Linked DNA regions of Homo sapiens: regions 1, 2, 3, 5 and 6 are each linked to region 4. The links are contacts of gene promoters, found by promoter capture Hi-C in human tissues and cell types (Jung and others, 2019). All regions are on one chromosome and are shown on one strand. The core of a region is centred on a gene start or on the middle of the fragment in contact, and the rest is flanking DNA. Distances in the headings are between cores, read along the strand shown. Region 1 has its middle 53 kb from the start of LINC01673. Region 2 has its middle 24 kb from the start of LINC01673. Region 3 has its middle 74 kb from the start of LINC00113. Region 4 holds the start of ADAMTS5 (ADAM metallopeptidase with thrombospondin type 1 motif 5). Region 5 has its middle 130 kb from the start of LINC01673. Region 6 has its middle 38 kb from the start of LINC01673.

Region 1 (2,700 bases), core at 171-2,670, 620 kb before region 4:
CACTGCTAAACACTGAATGTTATTTCAGTGTGATGATGACCAAGGAGTGATCCAGTCACTCTGTTTCATTTTCAAGAGTTACACATTCTATTGTCTGGAAAGGTTTCCAGCCTCATTTAAGTGATTTGTAGTGTGACTCCAGTTCTGACAGGATGTGGCGTGCAGCGTGACAGCAGACTTTCCATGTTTCGAGGACCATCGGATTCATATCCGAGAATCGACCACATGTCAGTGAATATTTCTTAATGTCGGTACTTTTATTTTTCAGAATTACCGAATACTGACGATGCATTAGTGCCTCTGAAAATTCCCAAAACCCATAATGATTATAAAGTGTTTCCAAAAGAAAATGTAAATGGTAACATAGCTTCCATTATAATTATTGTTCTAAAAGATAATGCATATATTTTTATTAATTTTAGATTTCATAAATAATTAAACATTGCTCCTGATTATAAAGAAAAGAAAACTTATCTGCAGTTTTTCTTTCATTTTTGTAAATACTCTTAAAACAACACAAAGAAAGATTCCATTGAATGAATATGCTGCACATCGGATTACTTGTATTTCATATATATTAAATATATACTTCTTTAAGATAAATCTTGTTTGTTTTTCAATTTCCACTAAAAGATTCATCCTAAAGTTCGAATCCCTCTAACAAACTTCCACAACATGTGTCCCTTTGCTTGGCATTATGTAAACACTGGGAATATTTACTGAATGGAAACCAAACCACAAAGTTCTGCAGCCAACTTCAAAAAGAAATTAACTCACAAAGGCCTCAGTATACATGGTTTTGCACATAATTTCTTTTGAGTAACTCATGCTCCCGTTCACACCTCACTGCAGTAACTTCACGTGTTTCACTGATGCAACAAATGCATGCATGTAGCAAAACAAAACATGATACATTTCTTTCAATGGGGGCAGGTCACTTTTAATATGAGAAATATATTTTGGAATTATTTGCTTTGTTGTTTTATCAAAGTTGAAATGAAAAGACATTAAGCAATATCTATATCTTAATATTGTTTTTTTGAGTTGGGGTTTCACACTGTCACCCAGGCTGGAGTGCAGTGTTGTGACCACAGCTCACTGAAGCCTCAAACTCCTAGGCTCAAATAATCTTCCCACCTCAGCCTCCTGAGTAGCTGAGACTATAGGCACATGCCACTACACCAAGCTAATTTTCTTATTTTTATTTTGCAAAGGCAAGGTCCCGCTTTGATGTCCAGGCTGGGTGCCAATCAATCCTGACTTCAAGTGATCCCACTGCTTTGGTCTCCCAAAGTGCTGGGATTACAGACATGAACCACCATGCCCAGCTATCCTGAGCATAATGAAAGGAATGTGATGCGAATATGCCCCCATGAATAACGCAAACTTGAAAAGTAAGTTTTACTGCTAATCTGATGATTTTATCATAAATTGCTTTTCCTTTTGCTTGCTAATACTTAAAATAATTTTAAAAGTTATAAAGGAATATGTTTAACCCTGTTTTTCTTGTGACTAGTCTTTTTTAACCCATATTAAGAAATTTAGATTATCCTATCTAAACCTAATTCTTGTCTCACTCCCTAATCGTAAATTTGTTAATGTTGCTTCTACCTCTAGCTTAAAGATTGATTTCAGAATTTCTAAAAACAGATGCCTCCAAACAGCATTGTTGCTTTTAAAGACATAAAAGTAATTCATCTTTTTAATACGTAAAATCTTTTTGTATTTTAGAAGATTGATGACACTTGAGAATCTTCTGTATCAGATGCAGGGTACAATCATAAGGGGGGCTATGCTCATGTACCCTGGCCAGATTTCAGGCTGCAATTGAAGTCATGCTCTTAAGAAAAGGGATTATTCAGCCAGGCGCAGTGGTTTACCCCTGTAATCCCAGCACTTTGGGAGGCCAAGGCAGGCGGATCACGAGGTCAGGAGATCGAGACCATCCTGGCTAACGCAGTGAAACCCCGTCTCTACTGAAAATACAAAAAATTAGCTGGGCGTGGTGGCGGGCACCTGTAGTCCCAGCTACTAGGGAGGCTGAGGCAGGAGAATGGCGTGAACCAGGGAGGCGGAGCTTGCAGTGAGCCGAGATCGCGCCACTGCACTCCAGCCTGGGCCACAGAAAAAATCTCCGTCTCAAAAAAAAAAAAAAAAAAAAAAAAAAAAAAAAAAAAAAAAAAAGAAAAGGAAAGAAAAGAAAATGGATTATTCTTCATTGGCATTGAGATTAGCCTCTTCCTTTAACTTCCTGCAAATATGTTAAAGAGTAATAACTTCTGAGGTTTTCATTCCCGTGCAATCATTCTTTTTAAATATTTCAGTTGAAGAGGGTCCTTTAGCCTTGGTGGTAGCAGCCTCAGCAGAAGATTTGGTCATTATCTCTGCACTGTCATTCTAACTGGGACCGATTTTGCCATCATAGCTAGAGTATCATCTCCCTGTAGATCTCCTCTCTCAGACAAACTATTATTTGGCAATTTGCTTCTGCCACTAGAGAGACCCACCCCTACGATGGCTCTTAACTGCCCTGCTTCACGGCCATGGGCTCGATCTGGCGCTCAGCAGCCCAGTTCACCAAAGCTGTACCACCTCTGCTCACATAATCAATTGACAGATACCAGATACTATTGTACCTAAATATCTCTACAGTGGCCTGCTCTCCACTGGAAATAACCAAAACAGGATTTCAAGTAATTT
Region 2 (2,700 bases), core at 182-2,681, 650 kb before region 4:
GTATTTGTAAATCAATGTAATCTACATCAACAAGCAAAAGTAAAAAAAGTATGTGATCATATCAACTGATGCGTAAAAAGCATTTGATGACTATACTGCCCAAAGCAATCTACAGATTCAGTGCTTTTCCTATTAAATTACCAGTATCTTTTTTTTTTACAGAATTGGAAAAAACTATTCTGAAATTCACATAGAACTAAAAAGAAGCTGAATAGACAAAGCACTCTAAGCAAAAAGAAGAAAGCCAGAGGCATAACATTATCCAGCTTCAAACTATACTCTAAGGCTACAGTAACCAAAAAGGCATGATACTCTACATATACTATACAACCAGACACATAGACAAATGTAATAGAAAAGAGAATCCAGAAATGGAGCCAGACACCTACAGCCATCTAATCTTCAACAAAGTTGACAAAAATAAGCAATGAAGAAAGGACTCCCTATTCAATAAATAATGCTGGGGTAGCTGGCTAGCCATATGCAGAGAAATGAAACTGGATCCCCACATTTCACCATATACAAACATCAACTCAAGATGGATATTGTTTTTTGAGGTCTTACATCTTAAGATGGTTTTATCTTAAGATGTAAGACCTCAAACTGTAAGACTCCCAGAAGGAAACCTAGGAAACTCCATTCTGGACATTGGCCTTGGGAAAGGATTTATTACTAAGTCCCCAAAAGCAATTGCAATAAAAACAAAAATCTACAAGTGAGATGTAATCAAACAAAAAAGCTTCTGCACAGCAAAAAAAACTATCAACAGAATAAACAGGCAACCTACAGAATGGGAGAAAATATTCAAAAACTCTGCATCCAACAACAGTCTAATATCCAAAATTTATAAAGAACTTAAACAATTGAAGAAGCAAAAATCAAACTACTCCATTAAAAACGGGCAAAGAACATGAAAAGACACTTCTCAAAAGAAGATATACAAATGGCCAATAAACTTTAAAAAATGCTCCACATCACTAATCATCATGGAAAATCCAATCAAAACCACAATGTGATACCATTTCACTCCAGTCAGAATGGCTGTTATTAACATAAAAAACCGACAGATGCTGGCAAGTCTGCAGAGAACAGGAGAGGCATATGCTGTTGGTGAGAATGTAAATTAGCTCAGCCACTGTGAAAAGCAGTTTAGAGATTTCTCAAAGAGCTTAAAGTAGAACTACCATTTGACCCAGCAATCTCATTACTGGATATATGTCCAAAAGAAAACAAATTGTTCTACCTAAAAGACACAAGCACTCACATTCATCACAGCACTATTCGCAGTACAAAAGACATGAAATCAACCTAGGGGCCCATCAGTGGTGGATCAGAAAAAGGAAATGTGGTACATATACACCATGGACTATTACATGGCCATAAAAAAGAATGAAATCATGTTCTTTGTAGCAAAATGGATGCAGCTGGAGGCCATTATCATAAACAAATTAACTCAGGAACAGAAAACTAAACACCACGTGTTCTCACTTATAAATGGTAGGTAAACATTGACTACACATAGATATAAAGATGGGAATAATAGACATTGGAGACTACTAGAGGGTGGAAGGAGGGAAGAGGGCAAGGATTTAAAAACTGTTGGGTACTAAGCTCAGTACCTGGATGATGGGATCATTCCTACTCCAAACCTTAGCATCATGCAATATTCCTAGTTATTAAACCTCTGAATCTAAAATAAAAGTTGAAAAGAAAAAAAAAAAAGCTTCTTACTGCTGGAATGAGAGGTGACAGGTAACCCAGGGGAGGAGGCTAGAATGATCCATGTCATAATGAACTGAACTTGAATACATCAGTATGAACTCAAACTCATGTTTAACTTAATATGGATACAGATGGTTACATGAAGAAATATTTATAGATATGTATTTACACACGGGTTACTATAAACCCATATATATTTCTTTTGCTTTCTCACCTTAAATGTCCAGAAGCAAAGATACCCCAGTAGAAAAGAGCACACCTAACATGTAGATCTTCATTTTTAATATTAATCTCCATTTAAAAAAAGAGAAACAACAACAACAAAACCAGGACTTTATAAATGACTGATTTCAGGACTAGACCAGGAAACATACAAGATACTCCTGGAGCATTTTGCAGTTATAGAAATTAAGAAAACACTCAACACACAGGCTAATGGTGCAAGTATATCAAAGAGGCACAAAAACCAACAGAAAGAACATCCAGTGGCCAAGGCTGAAACAAAGAACAACAGAGTGAATAGATTAGAACTGGTTTATACCCCAAAGTATAAAATAAATATCCACAGGTCCATAGTTTTAGAAATAAATGACCAAGAAATTGGGGAGAAAAGGCAAATCTCTCATGCTAGAGAATTTCAAGTAATTTATGTTGTTATGCTTCCCTCATAGAAGTGTTACATAATTCCCCACTTCTTCAGTGTACGCTGCTCATAGTAGCTTCCTGCCAAAGAGAAAAATATGGGAAGGAGAGTAATTTTACAATGGATAAATTTGACAAGCGCCACTTCAGCCAGGTGATGGGATGATATCAACAATGATAAGTCGTGTTGATAATGTGAACCACTGATATGTTGTTATGAAAACTGGCACGTTACCTCCATAGTCTTTTATCTGGGGAACATCTAACCCTAATCATTGGAAAAATATTAAATTCCAATAGAGGGACATCCTACCACATACCTGACCAGTATTTCTC
Region 3 (2,700 bases), core at 96-2,595, 830 kb before region 4:
TCTTCTGTCTACTTAGGCACATGACCACTACTTTCTCTTCTTAATGTATTAGCTAAAGTGATCTTACTAAACCATAAATCAGAGCATCTTTCTCCACTATCAAACAATCAATTGAATTTATCCTGTCATGCAAATTTCTTACTTTGAGCCAGAAGTTCCTCCAAGATCCGTCCCCACTTCTCTCTGCACTTATCTCTTGCAACACTGGCCTTATAGCTTTCCCTCAAATCCATTTACTATTCCTCTACCATGTGCAGTTTTTTTTCCTACGATTCTCTTTAAGTTTTGTTTGTTTGTTTGTTTGTTTTGTTTTGTTTTGTTTTGAGACAGTCTTGTTCTGTCACTGAGATTGGAGTGCAGTAGTGGGATCTCAGCTCACTGCGAACTCTGCCTCCCGGGTTCAAAGGATTGTCCTGCCTCAGCCTCCTGAGTAGCTGGGATTACAGGCGCATGCCCCCATGCCCAGCTAATTTTTGTATTTTTAGTAGAGACGGGTTTCACCATGTTGGCCAGGCTGGTCTCGAACTCCAGACCTCAGGTGATCCACCCACCTCGGCCTCCCAAAATGCTGGGATTACAGGCATGAGCCACCATGCCTGGCCTCTAAATTCATTACCTAAATTTCACCTTTACAGTGAGCGCCCATTGAAATATAATACTACCATGTGAAACTCACGTCTATCTCCAAAATTTTTTACACCCTTCACTGATTCTACTTTCCATTTAGCATTTATAATTTGGTATCCGAAACTTACAGTGTTTATTTTCAGTCTATCCCATAAGAATGCAAGCTCTGTGGAGACAGATATTTTTCCTGTTGTGTTTTTGTTCTCATTGTATCCTAAATGCCAGCCATGCAGAAATGCTTAAAAAGCAATTGTTACATAAACAAATGAAGGAGCAGAACAAAAGATTAGACATGGGGTAATGGTATGAGTGTTTAGATGATGACTTCCAGATGTTGGGATAAAACACCTTAAATGCTGCCTTAGGTTAGAAGCATTCTAGAAACGCAGGCAAGAATAAAGCCCCAGCTGAATCACTTGTGTACTTTATACTGTTAAAGAAATAACCACGTGAAATGGTTTGTCCATAGCTTGACAGCTGCATTACCTAGGAGGGAGCTTCCTAAGAAGAAATTCTATGGCTTAATTTCACCCTTTAATAATAAAATGAGGATAATACCCCCACTAAAAAAAATCTGGGATTCTAATCTGCTGAACTTGTTTTGAACTTTAAATTAAAATACTCACCTAAAAAAGAAAAAGAAAAAAAAAAACCACCTAACAAAATTGCCCTACCTTAGAAGTCTCTCTATTTTTGGAACTAAATACTCTTTTCACACACATGACAAAATCCCGAAGTAATTGAGTTACTAGAGGGATTTTTAGTATTAAAATGATATTTTCCAGGCTCCAACATGCAATTTTGACAAGAACTGATAATATAGCTTAAAAAGTTATTTGCTAAGCAAAATCTTTTGAGAGTGGTAATTTGGATAGGACTGAAGCAGAATTAAATCGCAACAGGAGTTAGGGAAAATGGGCCAAATAATATAAGATTTACTGGAATTTGGTTAGGGAGTAGCTGAGAAGCTTGTCTGATTCATTTCCAGTTATAAAAAGGATTTTTACATTGCCCTTTCATGCAGACTTAACTTCAAAGACGTTATTAGCAACTGTCACTGGGAAGGTGTGGGAGAGATCCTTGTTCACAAAGTAGTATTCAAGAGTGTGAACCCCCTCACCATTTCATAACAATTAATTAAATTGTTAGAACAGGAACTTGGCCTCTGTCTGAATATTTGAAATGTAAAACATTCCTTAGAGCAGTAGTTCTCAATCTAACATGCACACTCAGGAGTTTTAAAAACTAGCTGATGGCCAGGCCTTTATTTCCATATTCTAACTTTATATTCCAGGTATTGGAATTTTTTTAAGTTGTTTTAAAATTTTAAAACGAAAAATTCATTTTATTTATTTTTTATTTTCAAATTTTAAAGTTCTTCAGAGTTTAAAGAAGCACCAGGGATTGAAAGCACGGTTTATGGGAGTTGTGATTTCATTGTTGAATACGATATTTGAAATACTTTCATTATTAAAGCCAATTGTGGTTAGTGCACCTGTTTTGTAAAGAGTAAAAATGGAATAATAAATCTGTTACGTTTTATTATAAAATTCTCAAGAATCTACTTTTTTTGAACATGTTGGTAATGTCATTAGGCAAGTTCCGACGGTTTCTGTTTATTGACTTTTTCCATATACTTGTCCCCTAAAAGAGTAGATACAAACTTATTCAAGGAGAAAAGGAGGATAATTTGTTTCCGTAAGAGTCTGAGGCATTTCCTTTTTTGTTGTATCATTAGTCATTCTTATTTAGTGATGGGAGCATTTTATTTACCAGAAACATTATTTGAGTTGTTTCCTAGAATCTATTATAATTGATCAGGACTAGAACTTAATAAAAAGCAAATTAAGTTAATGACACAAAAAATGACACCATTAGGGACCAGCTAGCAACCTTGTTTTCATCAGAAATGTGGCATGTAACTAAAGACATATGTGAGGAAATGTGGTCATTTTTGGTTGGTATCAATTACAACTACTTAAGTACCTAAGGCATTGTATTCCTGAATCATTCCTGGTAAAACGGTTTCATCCTTGTTATTAAATTTCTCGTCATGAGCACATTACTCAGGGC
Region 4 (2,700 bases), core at 143-2,642:
CCCCAGCGTAGCCAAAGTTAAACGTAGAAAAAGATGGAAATGTACAAATTACACCACATTCATTTTTCACTGGTGCATTAGTTAATTAGCCTGAAGAATAATTTGGGCATGGAGGGAGCTCTTACCCCTACAGTAGAAGGTAGACCTTCTAACCATAAGTCGTCGGGTTTTCCTTCTCCCTTCTTAGAATGATAATTAGAGGAAACAAAGAGGTCAGAGGAAACGAGTAGCAGTGATAATGTCACCCGCGTACTAATAAGCACCAATCTTCCTTCCGCCAAAAGTATTCTTTTTCTTCTAAAAGGAATTTCTGAGAATGAAGGTAGGTCAAGGCCTATGGCGATAAGTGGTTGCTTTAGAAGAGACAAAAACAGATATAGGAATTTATTATTAAAGTATCATTTAAGCAAAAAATAAAAGTATGAGCGCAAAATTTTAAAATCTTTCAGGGAAAAAAAATGAGCGGAATTCCCTCTAAGAGTTAACTCTTTCTCGCTCTGCCTTTTTAGAGCAAAGGAAGTTCCAGTGGGCTGGGAGTAAGGGACAGATTGTGGACCCTGACGAAAGGCGTGCTGGAGAAAGCTGGGAGCCCGCCGTTCGCACACAAAGCTGCGGAGTTCCCAAGCGGCGGGCGTTCTCGCCCCGGGGTACCGCAGCGCGCCAGGAAGCGCCCTGGGCTCTCTGGCTGTCCAGCCGCTCTGCTGGTGGCCGGGAGAAGTTAGTCACCCGGAGCCCGAATCCGGCGAGCGTCAAAGCATCAAGAGGCTGGAGAATGGGGAGGGAGGAAACCGGGTGCCGGGACGGAGGGGAGGAAGCGAAGGGAACGCGGTGGTTAGGGGACGCACGGGAAGCTGAAAAGCTCTGGCTGGTGGATGGAGTTGCACGGTCTGCGAGGCCAGAGCGCACGGGTGTGCAAAGGGGAAAAACTTGCGGCAGGAACTTCCCACCGAGGGCGAGAAAAGCAGGCAAGAAGGAGGCAGGGAGAGACTTGAAACGTCTCAATAACTTTAACCAAAACACCCGTTCAGGAGATGAGGTAAGCCAAGGTTAGCCAACCCCAATTGGTTGTGAAATATCAGACAGACCCGGAGCCGCTGTGGCTTTAAAAGTGGCCAAGGAAATCTGTTTTTCTTGCCCCATTACTTTTTATTTTCCCCTCTCCCCTCCTACCACCTCGCCGGGTCCCAGTCCCTTCCTCCTACTTCGTCTCCCTTTCCTCGATCACCCTCCTCTTTTGCCCTCCCCCATCTGATTAGGCGCGGACTGGGAAGGGTGGGAGTGGTGGGGGAAGCTCTCCCTTTAAGAGGCAGCGTGCAGTGACGAACTGTTGAAATTGCCATTGCAGGATGGCATGCCGCTATAAATTCATTGTTCCACCTCCTCGCATCTTCACAGCGCTCGCGCTGCTCTCGGCGCTCGCAGCTGCCGACTGGGGATGACGGCGGGCAGGAGGAGACCGCAGCCGAAGGGACACAGACACGCCGCTTCACCAGCTCGCCTCAGGCTGCCCCCCTGCATTTTTGTTTTAATTTTTACGGCTTTTTCCCCTCTCTTTCTTCCCTTCCTCCTGGTCCCAGCAGAGCCAAGGAAACCCACAAAATAAGAAAGGAAGTGGGCCCCGGAGCTTGGAACCTCCACAGCCGGCTTGTCCAGCGCAGCGCGGGGGCGGGAGGCTGCGCGCACCAGTTGCCAGCCCGGTGCGCGGTACCTTTCCTTACTTTTCTTGAAACAGCGATCGTGCCTGCATTTGGTGGTTTTTTGGTTTTTGTTTTTTTCCTTTTCCCGTATTTGCTGAATCTCCACTATCCGACTTTTTTTTTTTAATCTTTTCTTTCCCCCCCCCCCCACCCCACCTCTTTCTGGAGCACGAATCCAAACATTTTCCCAAGCAACAAAGAAAAGTTCGCACGCTGGCACCGCAGCCCGGACAGGCTGGCGCTGCTGCCGGGCCCCCCTCCCTCCGACACTTGACTCAATCCTGCAAGCAAGTGTGTGTGTGTCCCCATCCCCCGCCCCGTTAACTTCATAGCAAATAACAAATACCCATAAAGTCCCAGTCGCGCAGCCCCTCCCCGCGGGCAGCGCACTATGCTGCTCGGGTGGGCGTCCCTGCTGCTGTGCGCGTTCCGCCTGCCCCTGGCCGCGGTCGGCCCCGCCGCGACACCTGCCCAGGATAAAGCCGGGCAGCCTCCGACTGCTGCAGCAGCCGCCCAGCCCCGCCGGCGGCAGGGGGAGGAGGTGCAGGAGCGAGCCGAGCCTCCCGGCCACCCGCACCCCCTGGCGCAGCGGCGCAGGAGCAAGGGGCTGGTGCAGAACATCGACCAACTCTACTCCGGCGGCGGCAAGGTGGGCTACCTCGTCTACGCGGGCGGCCGGAGGTTCCTCTTGGACCTGGAGCGAGATGGTTCGGTGGGCATTGCTGGCTTCGTGCCCGCAGGAGGCGGGACGAGTGCGCCCTGGCGCCACCGGAGCCACTGCTTCTATCGGGGCACAGTGGACGGTAGTCCCCGCTCTCTGGCTGTCTTTGACCTCTGTGGGGGTCTCGACGGCTTCTTCGCGGTCAAGCACGCGCGCTACACCCTAAAGCCACTGCTGCGCGGACCCTGGGCGGAGGAAGAAAAGGGGCGCGTGTACGGGGATGGGTCCGCACGGATCCTGCACGTCTACACCCGCGAGGGCTTCAGCTTCGAGGCCCTGCCG
Region 5 (2,700 bases), core at 106-2,605, 540 kb before region 4:
TATTTTTGAAATGGAGGCTTCCAAACTGACATAGGCACAGGAAAGTAAGTCACTATGATATTCCATTTTCATTCCCCACTATGACCCATGTTTCCACTGGTCAGCTTCACTAACATCAAGATTCCCAGGCTCTCAGAGAAAATTCTAATATTTAATATTTAATTAATATTTAAGCAAAACTAACAGAGTAAAACAATCAGTCCATTGCAACTGTTGAGGTTTTGTAAGGTGAAAATTTCTCTTTAAGCACTAAAAAAATGTCTACTAAAGTAGGTTATTTCTCAGTATTTTACGGCACATTACTGTTCTTAAAATTTTTATACAGTTGTAAAAAATTATAACTCCCTCAAATCTTAACTAGTGTTCACCCTAGTAGCACTTGACTGTGGAGCCTAATTATTTCCCGGTAGCATGTTTGACATCTATTAATGGTCATTATTAGGTGGCTCAATTTTACACAGCCAGAAAAAATGCAGAAAATCCCACAAATCTGATTTCTCACTTCCATATGCATAAGCCGAGGCTTGGAGAAGTAAAAAATGACCAAGGCCATGGTAATAAGTAGTGACAGAAGCAATCTGGATATGTTAGGTTTCAGATCAATGCTGTTTGCAATGTACCATTTATTCCCTTTCTATGTCTATTGACTAGGAATATGTTTGGAGTGTGTGTGTGTGTGTGTGTGTGTGTGTGTGTGTGTGTATACATGTGTATACTAAATGACTATGTAGTTGTAGCATTATCTTTGTGTGGAATTCCCCTTGTGGCTTTCAGCTTGCTTCATTTTCCTCTTGGATTGCAGTATGTGAAGACAGGATAAGCACAGATTTATGTAGTACCATTTTATTACAATATAATGAGACCTTTGTTTTTAGCTTTTTATTCTCTGTTTCTAAGAGAAAAAAATATGAGAACAGGTACTAACAACACTTACATAAAACAGGGTCTCATCTTCTCTGCAGTTGGTATCTAGCTTGCAAAAAGTTAAAGTTTTTACATTTATTTATTAGTTATAAAGGCAAAGTGATTTTCTTTGTTCATTCAAACCCTTGGAAGAAGAAAGTTTACAATAAATGCAATGAATTTGAAAATTATTTTTGTAATTATGTTCTCATTTATCTATTGCATAATTTCTAAAATATAATTTAGAATATTGTGAATTTTTCAAAAGAATCCAATATATTGTATTCTAATTTAAATAAATATTTTGTGGTGATTTGGTGGTGTTGTGAGGCAGATGAATGGAGTCCTGCTGAGCTGCGTAGAGTTAACTCAGGTCTGCTGGAAATGTCTCATGTGTGTCATTTCTCCATTGTCTTCAGAGATATTCATCAGGAAACACCCAACACACCAGTGTAACTTCACCTATCTCTGACATGCTGATCTGAACGCCAAGCCATTTCTCCTTTGATTGCTTGTATGTAAAATTAAAAGACATTTAGCATATCACTTTATACCCAATTCTAAAAGAGAAGATCTGCAATAAAAAAATGCCATTACTAACAGTTGTTTTACCAATCAATTATTTTGTTCATTATCAATCATAAAAGTTCAAGTCTTTCTCATTCCAGATTTCAGAGTAAGGCTGCTAAAAATACTACTACTACCACCACCAACAGCAAAAACAGTACATCACAAACAAATGAATGTGCCAACTTTATATCAATACTGGAGTTGATTAAAAATACTTAAAAATATAGCCACAATTTTTTTAAAATAAAGCTTTCAACAACAGAATTATTAAACATAATTTTCTTTGTTTAAATGCTACTTGTCTTTATTTAGTACTTTTCAAGTAAAAAATTCCTAAAATAATAATCTTTAAAATGCTTTAATTTCTGTTTAGTGATTCATAACTGCCTTTTTCAAACAATAAAAAAGCCCTCAGTGTTTTTTTTTAGAAAACAATTTTGAGAAAGAGATTGCAGATTATTTTCCATCATACAATTACTAATTTGGACATGATTAAGACCTCATGTTTCAAGACCTCACACAATAACCCAAGATTAGTGTAGTGTTTAATGGACATTTAGATAATCTGAAATATATTTGGTTATGCTTCTTCCTGTGGCTCAAAGCTCTTGGGTGATCTTTGTTTCTGAGATCAGAAAACAGCCAGGGTCAAACACACACCTAAAAGGCCCTTGGTAGGCCTAGGAAGATAGAGAAGAATCAGTGCTGTCAAGAAATTGTAGGCCAGGCACGGTGGCTCACACTTTGGGAAGCTAAAGCGGGCGGATCATTTGAGGCTAGTTTGAGATCAGCCTGGCCAACATTGTGAAACCCTGTCTCTACTAAAAATATAAAAATTAGCTGGGCCTGGTGGTGTATGCCTGTAGTCACAGCTAGTTGGTAGGCTAAGACACAAGAATCTCTTGAATCCGGGAGGCAGAGGCCTTCATGCCACCACATACCAGCCTGGGTGACAGTGAGACTCTGTAGCAAAAAATAAAAAATAAAAAATAAAAAAATAAATTGCAGAAGTCCTTGGTGAAACAAAACACATATCCAAGAACATAGTCAAAAAATGAAATATCAAAATAATACAACAGTATTGATTAAAGCTGTGTCTACCTGATCCCAAGTTAGGATTTTCAGATCCCAGTTGAGAAGCTTTCCAAACTTTCCTTGAATAGACACCAGAAGACACTTCATCATATAATCCTTCCTCAGTAAGATAATGGTGATTTCTATTTGTCA
Region 6 (2,700 bases), core at 99-2,598, 710 kb before region 4:
GTTGATGCTGCTGCTAATCCTTGCTTAAGGATACAGTATTATGAAATATATAAATTCCATAAATGCAACTACAAGTGCCAGAAAAAATGAAGTAATGAAAGAAGGTAAGTTTGGGGTATGTGGCCCATTTCCATTTGTAACCACCTCAAAATTTCAAAGACACAGCTGCCAGGCCAACAGTAATAAATATCATGGCCTACTCTACAAATAATGTGGATGATATGGCGCCATATGAGTTGATTGCTGGGATCCAATCAGAATCTCTTAATTAATGTGAGAAAGTTTTTGCTTGGGTGATGTGTACAGCATTGTTTTTCAAGTTGAGCTTAGTTGAGGCTTGAGGGCTGGCATATAGAGTGAATGTAAAATTCCATTCCAAAGTATTCAATTATTTGAGGAAAATATTCGAGCAATGTATGAGGTATAATCCTGGCTGAAAGCCTGCAGTATTAAAACAAGATTACATTCTTAACTAACTAGTGTTAAATCCATAATTTCATCTATAACCTCTCTTGGGAAACTTCTAATTTTAAGATATGTAGTTCAAAAAAATAAATAATATTTAGCTTCAAAATAGATTTAACATAAATTTAATGGACTCACTAGAAGTTTCCTCTGGGACTTCTAAATGATAACATTGTTTTGTCTCATTTCCACATCATATATTACAGGAATATAAAAATATTAAGGCTTACAAAGTACTTTTTCATTTGCTTTTCACATAACTGTGTGATCTATAGGAGCTGAGAAAACTAATTGTGGCTGAAAGAAGTTAGATTACTTTCCAAATTTATTCAGATAAATATTAACTTAATAAAGTTTAGAATTAAACCCCGATATTTTCCAAAATATCAATATTATATTTTATGGTAGCTTGCACAAAAGTAATTTTAAAAGACTTTATAAAAACAAATCCAGATACTTGCCGTAAAAATATAACACTTTAAAGGGCGTTAGATATTTATTTTATTCTTCCTCTTAAGTTAACTCTTGATGTCTTTCTGTGCACATTGAAGTCCAGAATGGAGTGTAGAGAGATCTGAAATTTTCTCTTTCATTTTGTTCATAAAAAGTGAAATAATGGTTTACCATCATTTTATTTTATAGAATGTTTATATGAGGAAAAAGACTCTAAACTGCCTTAATTTAGAACTTACCTGTGTATGCATATTAGAACACTAATAAAAATGTTTTGAATCTCAAGAAATTTGGACACAAATGCAGTCAAACTTTCGATTTTTAATTTTTTAAGATAAAGAGTAAACATTTTCACAAGAATGTTGTATAAATTACATTTCTGAAAGTTCGGTACAAGTTTATATACTAGTAATTGAACAAACCAGGTGAAATTAAGCGGGTAAGAAGATCAAATATTCTTACATGAAAAACAAACAGAATAAATAAACCTAGATTTTTCTGTTGCCTCTGTCTGAATGCTTTAAAAACATTTCCTAAGAGTTAGAATACAACAGATATAAAAAGCTGTGCCTTTTTACCAGGTCTCATCAGTTTTCCTACTAAAGCTATAGCACATTCACTCAGTTTCAAAGAAGGACTAGGTTCGATTACCGCACAATTCACAATGTATATTTTCGAATATGCCAGTGACCTACAAGTATTCTATATTCCAATAAAATTACCATATTAGTAAATTTTTTACCTCAAAGTAAAATTACTTGTAATTTCATTTTGAATTTATTCTCTTAATAATCTCAAAACAAAAAATAACATGAAAAGTTTAAACACGGGATTCATATTTATTATCACCATTTATTTACTATTTTAGGTACTTTAAGAGTTTTCCTGTTCATTTTACATTCCCTGCCAATTTTGACATTTGTAATGTGAATTCAAGATCTATACAAAAAAATGCAAAGTTATGAAACATTTTTAAGTGAAATCAGGAGAAAATTTTATGCCTTTGTTCTATTAAAAGGGTTAATTTTATTTTATTTTATTTTTTTTTTTGAGACAAAGTCTCATTTGTCGCCCAGGCTGGAGTGCGGTAGCGCAATCTCGGCTCACTGCAAGCTCCGCCTCCCGGGTTCACGCCATTCTCCTGCCTCAGCCTCCCGAGTAGCTGGGACTACAGGCACCCGCCACCATGCCCAGCTAACTTTTTGTATTTTTAGTAGAGACGGGGTTTCACCGTGTTAGCCAGGATGGTCTCGATCTCCTGACCTCGTGATCTGCCCGCCTCAGCCTCCCAAAGTGCTGGGATTACAGGCGTGAGCCACCGCGCCCGGCCCAAAGGGTTAATTTTTAAAGGGTCAAAAAATAAATGAGAAAAAAGTTAATAATTTCTGTGTAGCAATAAATACAAAAAATGCAAAGAGAAACAATGCAGACTGGTTCAACAAATGTGTAATGAACAAAGGATTACTCTCCAGAACATATGAAAACCTCCCACAAATTAGTAAGAAAAAGATAAATAACTCAGCATACTAATTGGCAATATGCACAAACGGGCATTTTGATGAATAGCTCTTAATTCTGTAAAAGGAGTTTAACCGCTTTTGTAATCAGGGAAATTCCAATTAAAGCCACAATGAGATACCATTTTACACCCACCAGATTGGCAAAAATTAACAAGTCCCAAAACATGAAGCTTTGGCAAGGATGTAGAATAACGGGAACTCATACAAACCCGATAGACTCTACACTAGTGGGAATATTTTGAAAAGCAATTTGGCATTATCT

The links. Contacts are between HindIII fragments. The study calls those that stand out against the background at their distance.
Region 1: a contact is called between a fragment that was not itself captured here and the fragment with the promoter of ADAMTS5 in region 4, in 1 of the 25 tissues and cell types used here (IMR-90 fibroblasts).
Region 2: a fragment that was not itself captured here is called in contact with the fragment with the promoter of ADAMTS5 in region 4 in 2 of the 25 tissues and cell types used here (dorsolateral prefrontal cortex and heart left ventricle).
Region 3: a fragment that was not itself captured here is called in contact with the fragment with the promoter of ADAMTS5 in region 4 in 1 of the 25 tissues and cell types used here (heart right ventricle).
Region 5: a contact is called between a fragment that was not itself captured here and the fragment with the promoter of ADAMTS5 in region 4, in 3 of the 25 tissues and cell types used here (IMR-90 fibroblasts, dorsolateral prefrontal cortex and lymphoblastoid cells).
Region 6: a fragment that was not itself captured here is called in contact with the fragment with the promoter of ADAMTS5 in region 4 in 2 of the 25 tissues and cell types used here (bladder and dorsolateral prefrontal cortex).

The regions. Positions count from the first base shown.
Region 1 is chr21:27,584,602-27,587,301 of GRCh38, reverse strand. No RefSeq gene overlaps it. Among named protein-coding and RNA genes, the nearest start is that of LINC01673, 53 kb to the left of the region's middle. The HindIII fragment of the contact is 6,113 bases long and covers 1-2,700 here.
Region 2 is chr21:27,612,813-27,615,512 of GRCh38, reverse strand. No RefSeq gene overlaps it. Among named protein-coding and RNA genes, the nearest start is that of LINC01673, 24 kb to the left of the region's middle. The HindIII fragment of the contact is 3,174 bases long and covers 1-2,700 here.
Region 3 is chr21:27,794,588-27,797,287 of GRCh38, reverse strand. No RefSeq gene overlaps it. Among named protein-coding and RNA genes, the nearest start is that of LINC00113, 74 kb to the right of the region's middle. The HindIII fragment of the contact is 4,360 bases long and covers 1-2,700 here.
Region 4 is chr21:26,965,780-26,968,479 of GRCh38, reverse strand. ADAMTS5 (ADAM metallopeptidase with thrombospondin type 1 motif 5) reads left to right here and starts at 1,392. Exons shown (of 8, transcript NM_007038.5): 1 at 1,392-2,700. The coding sequence starts at 2,089. LOC124905050 reads left to right here. Exons shown (of 3, transcript XM_047441063.1): 2 at 510-1,036; 3 at 1,396-1,824. The coding sequence ends at 1,824. The HindIII fragment of the contact is 10,779 bases long and covers 1-2,700 here.
Region 5 is chr21:27,507,418-27,510,117 of GRCh38, reverse strand. No RefSeq gene overlaps it. Among named protein-coding and RNA genes, the nearest start is that of LINC01673, 130 kb to the left of the region's middle. The HindIII fragment of the contact is 3,550 bases long and covers 1-2,700 here.
Region 6 is chr21:27,675,381-27,678,080 of GRCh38, reverse strand. No RefSeq gene overlaps it. Among named protein-coding and RNA genes, the nearest start is that of LINC01673, 38 kb to the right of the region's middle. The HindIII fragment of the contact is 6,931 bases long and covers 1-2,700 here.